Linked DNA regions of Homo sapiens: all the other regions are linked to region 1. Evidence: promoter capture Hi-C in human tissues and cell types (Jung and others, 2019). All regions are on one chromosome and are shown on one strand. Each heading gives the region's core, a stretch centred on a gene start or on the middle of the fragment in contact. The rest is flanking DNA. Distances are from core to core; before and after follow the strand shown. Region 1 holds the start of STT3B (STT3 oligosaccharyltransferase complex catalytic subunit B). Region 2 has its middle 41 kb from the start of GADL1. Region 3 has its middle 88 kb from the start of GADL1.

Evidence for each region. Contacts are between HindIII fragments. The study calls those that stand out against the background at their distance.
Region 2: a fragment that was not itself captured here is called in contact with the fragment with the promoter of STT3B in region 1 in 1 of the 25 tissues and cell types used here (aorta).
Region 3: a fragment that was not itself captured here is called in contact with the fragment with the promoter of STT3B in region 1 in 1 of the 25 tissues and cell types used here (aorta).

Annotation. Positions count from the first base shown.
Region 1 is chr3:31,531,598-31,534,258 of GRCh38, forward strand. It overlaps STT3B (STT3 oligosaccharyltransferase complex catalytic subunit B), which reads left to right and starts at 1,328. Exons shown (of 16, transcript NM_178862.3): 1 at 1,328-1,715. The coding sequence starts at 1,402. RefSeq lists silencers at 651-910, 1,221-1,450, 1,481-1,610, 1,691-1,840 and enhancers at 1,011-1,150, 2,001-2,060. The HindIII fragment of the contact is 7,687 bases long and covers 1-2,661 here.
Region 2 is chr3:30,934,107-30,936,767 of GRCh38, forward strand. No RefSeq gene overlaps it. Among named protein-coding and RNA genes, the nearest start is that of GADL1, 41 kb to the left of the region's middle. The HindIII fragment of the contact is 5,852 bases long and covers 1-2,661 here.
Region 3 is chr3:30,980,844-30,983,504 of GRCh38, forward strand. No RefSeq gene overlaps it. Among named protein-coding and RNA genes, the nearest start is that of GADL1, 88 kb to the left of the region's middle. The HindIII fragment of the contact is 6,870 bases long and covers 1-2,661 here.

The DNA of each region.
Region 1 (2,661 bases), core at 78-2,577:
AGCGGACAAGGAGGGAAGTGGGGAAAGGAAAGGAATTATAAAAATACAAGGTAGACGTGCACAAGAACCTTCGTTCTATTATTATTTAGTAAAGTGAGAACTGGAAACAGCTTAACGTCCAGGGTAAGTTAGTTTCACTCACTCGACGGAATGTATGCAGCCGTTAATGTATTTCTGCATTTTCCCATATTTCCAGTGAACATACAGTACTTTCGCAATTCGGAGTACAAACGAAAAAGGGCGAGAGAAGGTCGCATTTTGCCTGCCGGAGCTAGGGGCGCGCTTGCCGGTTCCAACGAGTTTTCGGTGTCGGAAAACTTGTCTTTGCTCACATTCTCGGATTCCCGCGGCCGCAGAAGCCGGAGGCGGGACGTGAAGGGCAATGAGCAAGGTAGGCTGTGTCACTGCCGCCGCGGGCTCACTCGCAGCGCCAGCCGAGGAGCGCCACGGGCTGCTGAACCCCTCGGCCCGACCCACGCGCCGAGGGCTAGGATAATGCGCCTGCGCGGCCGTCACGTGGTGAGGGCTCCGCGCAAAGCGGGTTAAAAGTCACGACCGCGGAGAGCCCGCGAGCGTCCTGCTGGTCGGTGCGGCGCTTTCCGCGTCCTTTAAGACGAGTTTGACCGAGGCCGCTCCGCAGTTCCCGCCCCTCGGCCCAGCTCAGCTCCATGAACCTAGCGGAGCCGCCTAGTACCCTTTCTCGCCGACCGCACAGGCGCGCGAAACCGCGTCTTTCAACTGACAATGAAGCCGTAGCCGCGCAGCTCGGCCACTCCGGGCGAATCGGCGCGAGGCCGGGATGGTGGGGGGGAGGGGGAGACGGTTGGGTCAAGCTCCGCCCCAGCTCGCGCCCCTATTGGTGGGCGCAGCGGTTCTGGGCCCGCCCCCTAACGGACCTGTCGCTTTGTGACAGGCGGAGGGGCCAGTTCCTGTCGGGCCGGAGGCGGAGTCAGAGGTTGCTTGAGCTCCGCCCGGACTCCAGGGGGCTCCTCCCCCTGCTCCTTTCGGCTGGGCGGGCGGCGGGCTAGAGAGGGAATGTCATTGCTTCTCAGAGCCGTGGTGCCGCCTCCGTCTGCTGCTTCTTTCCTGGCGCCCTCGTCCCGTCGGCTTTCGCCGCCGCCGCCGCAGCTGCACTGGGGATACGGATGGCTAGTGGGGCGCCGGGGCCATCTGGGTTGAGAGAGCGGCGATTGCGGCCGCTGCTGAGGCGGAGACTCCCCGCCGCCGCTTCCTCCACCCCCAGTCCGCCGGCCTCGCGGCGCTGAGGGCGGGAGCGCGCAGAGCTCTTCCCTCCTCCTTTTTCTTCCTCCTCCTCCTCCTCCTCCGGGTCCCCGCCCAGCACCCCTCGCACCAGGCGGCGGCGGCGGAGGAGGAGAGCTAGACCCGCCGCCGGGGCACAACATGGCGGAGCCCTCGGCCCCGGAGAGCAAGCACAAGTCGTCCCTCAACTCGTCCCCGTGGAGTGGCCTCATGGCCCTGGGAAACAGCCGGCACGGCCACCACGGGCCCGGGGCCCAGTGCGCGCACAAGGCGGCGGGCGGCGCGGCGCCGCCGAAGCCGGCCCCGGCGGGGCTGTCCGGGGGGCTGTCGCAGCCGGCTGGGTGGCAGTCGCTTCTCTCCTTCACCATCCTCTTCCTGGCCTGGCTTGCCGGCTTCAGCTCGCGCCTCTTCGCCGTCATCCGCTTCGAAAGCATCATCCACGAGTTCGACCCGTGGTAAGTGCCTCGCCGCCCCTCCCCCGCCCGTGGCCCGCGGGGAACCGGGACCCGCTCCTCCGCCCGCCGCAGCTCTCCTCGACTTGGCCCCGCGCCGCCGCGGAGCCCCGCTCGCGTCCTGGCTGAGGCCGGCGCGGATCCCGGAGCTCCGGGCGCGCCCCCTGCCCGTGGGCGAAGTTTGCCCCGTGCAGCCTGAGGCGGGGCGTCGGGGTCCAGGAGCGAAACCTTGATTCTCGGCCGGGCTAGTGTGAAGACTGCCAGGAGTGTGGATGCAGCCGCCGGGAGTGTGGGTGCAGCCGCCGGGAGTGTGGGTGCAGTCCCTCGCAGCCCGCTTTGGTCGCTGAGTCCGGACCCGCCACGCCAGGAGGCGGCAGGTAGCTCCTCCGCGGACTGTCGGTCGATTCCCCGCCCTCCTCGCCCGCTGCTTTCGCGTTCTTTCATATTTGCGGGCGCGTTTTTGCTAGTTCAGACGGAATCGGCCAGGGGGGCTGCCCTGTTGCCGCTGGAGGTGGGTCCAGATGTGCCGGAACCCCGGCTGCTCACCCTTGCAGTTTTACGCTTTTACTGTTTCTTTTTATGCTCTCATGATACGAGAAGGGAAAAGGAGAGTGAATGGCGTGTTGGAGGGAAGGAAATAATACCCCTGAAAGTGATCTGAAAGCTAGCTACTCTTATTTATTTATCATTAGGTATTTTAAAGAGTGGCTTTTTTTCAGAGCTCTTAAGTGCACTCAGCACCTTACTGTTTCACTATCGTCTTGGGTTGCTTTTTAGAACAAGATCCTTACCCTGTTAGCCACTGTCACCCTTAGTGTGTTATGCACAGTATCTGAAAGCATTGCATTAGTTCCTTTATTGGTCTGCAGGAAGGTTTGTGGATAAGAGCAAACAGTACCACGGTGATGGGAGTCCTAGATTGTAATACCGAAGTTGCACATGGTGTAAG
Region 2 (2,661 bases), core at 110-2,609, 600 kb before region 1:
TAGCACATTTTTGAGAGAGGGAAAGAGATTGAAAGTAGCATTAATTTTAAGAATAAACAAGCTGATGCATCTTTCTGTAGCTGTTGTTGGAGTTCGTTTTGAGAATACAATTATGCCTCTAGACATGTACACTGGAAAAGGTTAGCTATAATAATTCAAACAGCATTGCCGTAAAAACATCCTTTCCAAATACGTTGGAGAAAAAGCAAACAAGTTTCTTTTGTGACCACAGGGGGAAGCATCAGCATGGCGTTTGAACAGTTTCACAGCTTACAGGAGAGGTGTTCCTCCTATTTGTGAGTTATGGCAGGAGCAACATGAATAATAACATTTTATTTTCTCCTTGGAAAAATAGAGGGCAGGTCGACATGGGAATGGCAAAACTGTAAAATTCAACAGGTCTAATTCACACTTGATCATGAGCACACGAGTAATGGGACGGGACTTTTGGGGTCTTTAGCAGAGAGGAAACTTGTAGGAAAAATAAGAAGCAAGAAAAACCAGAGTGATCCAGTTCTGTACGATGTGGCAATATTGTATAATTCTTCTAATCTTAAACCTTCTCTTAAACAATTCTTTAAATAACTGAGCTTTTCTTGTTTTCCTTTAATAGCTGTTAAAGTCACTTGAAATGAATGCTCTAGTTTAAACTAAAAAATACCCAGGAAGTGACCATTTAAAAACCAAAAACAAATCTAACCGTATATTTTTAGTCTATATAGCCTTCTTCAATTAGTTTCATATTTTGTCCATTTTATGCCACGACTTGTAGCTTTCTACATGGCTAATGATGCTAATAATAAATTTTGTATAGCATCTTCAACTTTTTCTAAAAGCAGGGTTTTATTTTTTATTTATATTTTTCAGAGACAAGATCTCACTTTGTCACCCAGGCTGGAGTGCAGTGGTCTGATCTTACTCACTGCACCTCTAACTCCTGGGTTCAAGGGATCCTCCTGCCTCAGCCTACAAAGTAGTGAGGACTACAACCATCTGCCACCACACCCAGCTAATCAGAGCGGTCTGTTCACAAATTTCCAGTGAGGCTGGAAACTGGGTATAATTATCTTCAGTTTACAAGTGTGCAGATCAATTAAGTCACCTACTCAAAGTCACATAACTGGGAATAGACTCAGAAAGAACCTAAACCTTCAGATGCCTAGCCCAGGCACTTTCCATTATGTTACACTTCATACAAACAGCGACATAGATTAATAATTAGTGTTTACTAACTTTTGCCTGAAATAACCAAGCTCTGGAATGACTAGACACCAGTTAGCAGTGGCTAAATGAAATGCTGTTTGAGAAGGATTATAAAGCTATATTATAAAGCCATCAGAGCCGTGATGGATGGGATGATAATATCCGTCATGTGTGAGGAGGGGGTTATGCTAACATACAAGCCACGTATTTCCGAATCCTGAAAATTCCAAGATCCTTATTCCGCATTTTGACCGTCATTTTCATTTGCTGTCAACCCAATGTCATGGTCACTTCCTGGACCATTTTTCAGACTAAACCATGTCTAAACTCTCCTTTTTTTCCTACCTCTGTCTACAATCTCTTCTTCTTCCATCTTCCTCAGTACTTGCTCTCACACCTTTGTTATTTAACTTAAGAAACACTCCCCAAAATTCCTCCACCACTTTCTTTTTATTATTATTACTATTTGTTGTTGTTGTTGTTGTTATTTCAATAGTTTTTGGGGAACAGGTGGTGTTTGGTTACATGAATAAGTTCTTTAGGGGTGATTTCTGAGATTTCCGTGCACCCATCACCCAAGCAGTGTACACTGCACTTAATGTGTAGTTTTTTATCCCTCGGCCCCTCCCACCCTTCCCCCCAAGTCCCCAGAGTCCATTATATCATTCTTATGCCTTTGTGTCTTCATAGCTTAGCTCCCACTTATAAATGTGAACATAAGATGTTTGGTTTTTCATTCCTAAGTTACTTAGAATAATGGTCTCCACTCCATCCAGGTTGCTGTGAATGCCATTATTTCCTTCCTTTTTATGGCTGAGTAGTATTCCATGGTAAATATATACCACTTTTTTTTTAAATCCACTTGTTGGTTGATGGGCATTTATGTTGGTTTCATGTTTTTGCAACCGTGAATTGTGTTGCTATAAACATGCATGTGCAAATGTCTTTTTCACATAATGACTTTTCCTCTGGGTAGATACTCAGTAGTGGGATTGCTGGATCAAATGGTAGACCTGCTTTTAGTTCTTTAAGGAATCTCCATACTGTTTTCCGCAGTGGTTGTACTAGTTTACCTTCCCGCAAGCAGTGTCAAAGTAGTCCCTTTTCACCACATCCACGCCAACATCATTTTTTTAAAAAATTATGGCCATTCTTGCAGGAGTAAGGTGGTATCACATTGTGGTTTTGATTTTCCTTTCCCTGATAATTGGTAATGTTGAGCACTTTTTTCATATGTTTTCTGGCCATTCGTATATCTTCTTTTGAGAATTGTCTATTAATGGCCTTACCCCACTTTTTGATGGGATTATTTGCTTTTTCTTGCTGATTTGAGTTCCTTGTAGATTCTGGATATTAATCGTTTGTCAGACACATAGTTTGTGAATATTTTCTCCCACTCTGTGGGTTGTCTGTTTACTCTGCTGATTACTTCTTTTGCTGTGCAGAAGCTTTTTAGTT
Region 3 (2,661 bases), core at 72-2,571, 550 kb before region 1:
CCAGTAGACACATGGTTTCACCATGTTGCCCAAGCTGATCTTGAACTCCTAACTTCAAGTGATCCACCCCCTCGGCCTCCCAAAGTGCTGGGATTACAGGTGTGAGCCACTGCACCCAGCCCCCACCCTTTTTTTTTTTTTCAATGGAGTACAAACAAACTTACTTTATGGATGAGGAAACTAAGGCCCAAAGAGATGACCTTCCCAATCATCCCAGCAAAGAAATATTGCTGTATATAATTGCAATTCATGCTTACTAACTAAATCTTATACTTGGTCATAAAACCATCACATTTAGTAACAACCAATTAAATTATTTTATTAATAAAGAAAACCCTGCCTCAGCAAATTATGATTTCCTATAGTTTTTTTTTCCTCAGGTTTTTCATTATTTCACTCAGAAAATATTGCATTTAGGGTTAAGAAAGATTAGCAGAATCACTTCTAACTAATTCAGTGAATAAAAAACTTAAAAAGATGGATTTTAAAAAACCCAGTCATTTGTTTTCAGGAAAGCCTCAAAAATTGACAAGAATTCAAATTACAAATGGAAAATATTCTCAAGAGTTTCATTTTAGTAACTGTACCTGGTGTTAATGATCCACATAGGTGTTGCTTAAAAATGAATGATCAATTTTTGCAAACAACATGCTTGCCAACAGAATGCGGAGGGCTTTCACACACACTGCTCTTAAGTCATGGTTAATTCATAGCCAAGGACACAACTAATGTGAGCAGTAAATAACATCTTGCCATGCAGGTCAGCAGATCAAGAAGGATGTTGTTACCCTGAAAGGGCTCAAGGACATCAGCTAGTGCCTCTTTATTTGTTCTGCTTCTGCATCTAGGACACAGCCTAGCACGGTATGGAGAGTTGACATTCGTGGAATGAATGAATGAACAGATGAAAATATGGGACTGCTGAAGAGGACTGAATTCTCTACAGAGATGTCTTAAAGTTGTTCTCATTGCTTTTACTTTTTAAATTTCTTCTATTTCATTGAGACTATTGAAGACAAAGCTGAGGAAGAATCTTGGGGAATGAATCTTTTGAATAGTGATCTGGTTCAACAGAAAAGGAACTGAAAGAGATAAAAAATTATTAGGCCAACATTCTATATCTTCTGGTAAAGAGTTTACAAATAAATAAAATTTACAAATGTTTTTTCACATTTTATAGTATCCTTTTAAAAACCCAAATTCGTTGTAAGAATCTGTCCAGACAAGAGAAGATTTCCAAATTTACTCTATCTTTAAAATGAAAACTATGCGACTTTGCTTTGCAACCCTATATAGCAAATTCCATGGGGATGGGAAAATAGAATTTATGAGGGATCCATCTCCAAACAGCTTATAGACATTCCTACTAAGGTGCCACCTTCCCATCCTTTGTCACCCAAGAAAATTCCTCAATGAGAACTGATTTTGAGTGGTTGGGAAGAGGAAAGGATTCCTCTTTCCTACCCCCAATCCCTCTACTTACTGGTAGTTTGTTAAAATTCCTTTTAACAAAGGACCAAAATTTTTGTTCCATAAAAATACTTAAAATGCAAATAACTCTGCAAGTGGGGGAAAAAAAAAAAAAAGAAAAACAAAGCTGTTGACTTAGATTCACACTAAGGGGTAAATAGCTTATCAGATCTTTTCCAGAGAGTAGGTTCTGATGGCTACAGGCTCCATGGAGAGAAAAAGGCACTGGGGAAAAGTAGAACAAGTGTTGCCTAATTTACATTTTTGCTTGAGGCTGGCCCTGTTTCTGAATTTAGTGCCTCTACCTGATCAATCCCCAGAGACTTGTTCCTATCATGTCTCCAGCTGCCATTCGCCTTCCTCCATCACCTGTGCCTCCCCTCCTCCTCTACCTGCCTGTTTTTATGCCACCAGCAGTCATTCAATTAAATGCAATTTCAGTTTTTCCCTGTCTGTCTCAACAAAGCCACTCCATATGGGATCAAATGCTAGATAAGAATCTTTTGAGATAACCGTGACCCAGCTGATTAGTAAAGGACTTCGGTCTTCCCTAAGATGGTGTATCACTGGTCAGCTCCTGAGATAGCAGCAGGAGGTTTATTGGAGAGTATGCTCAGAATCAGCACCCCTGAGAGACAGAGGGAAGTCATTGAGGGCAGGGAGAGAAGCTGAGCTACAGTATAGTTGCAGCAAAGGTCTCAGCCAATCCAACCTGGAGATCTAGAGCTGAGAGGGCCCTTCAGAGTTGTTCTGAATTGAGGCAGGAGAGCTGCACCTTTATAACCCTGCACTGACCAGCCACTGAATGTAGTTTGTGCCTGAAAAATGGGTATGATCTTGGGGCAAGACACTCTCTTCAGCCAAGCACAAATCCCAAAGAGGACAATCAGCTAAGGGGCATCAGCCATTAGCACTTCCAGCAGCTGGGAAAATAAGTGCCTCTTTCCTAGAGGGGGATCTTAGGTATCATGATATCCACTAAAATAAAGTTACTGTTCTTTTTAAGTGCAGGCTTTAAATTGGGGCTTAAAAGCAAAAATCACTCATTATTTTGTTAGAAACTTTACCAAGATCTCTTCTTCCTTGCAGAAAAACATGTCACCCATAGTAATGCACCCATGGCTTCCAAGTTGCCAATTCAACACACATGGATTAATCTGCATTTGCAACTGTCACATTCATGATAATTCA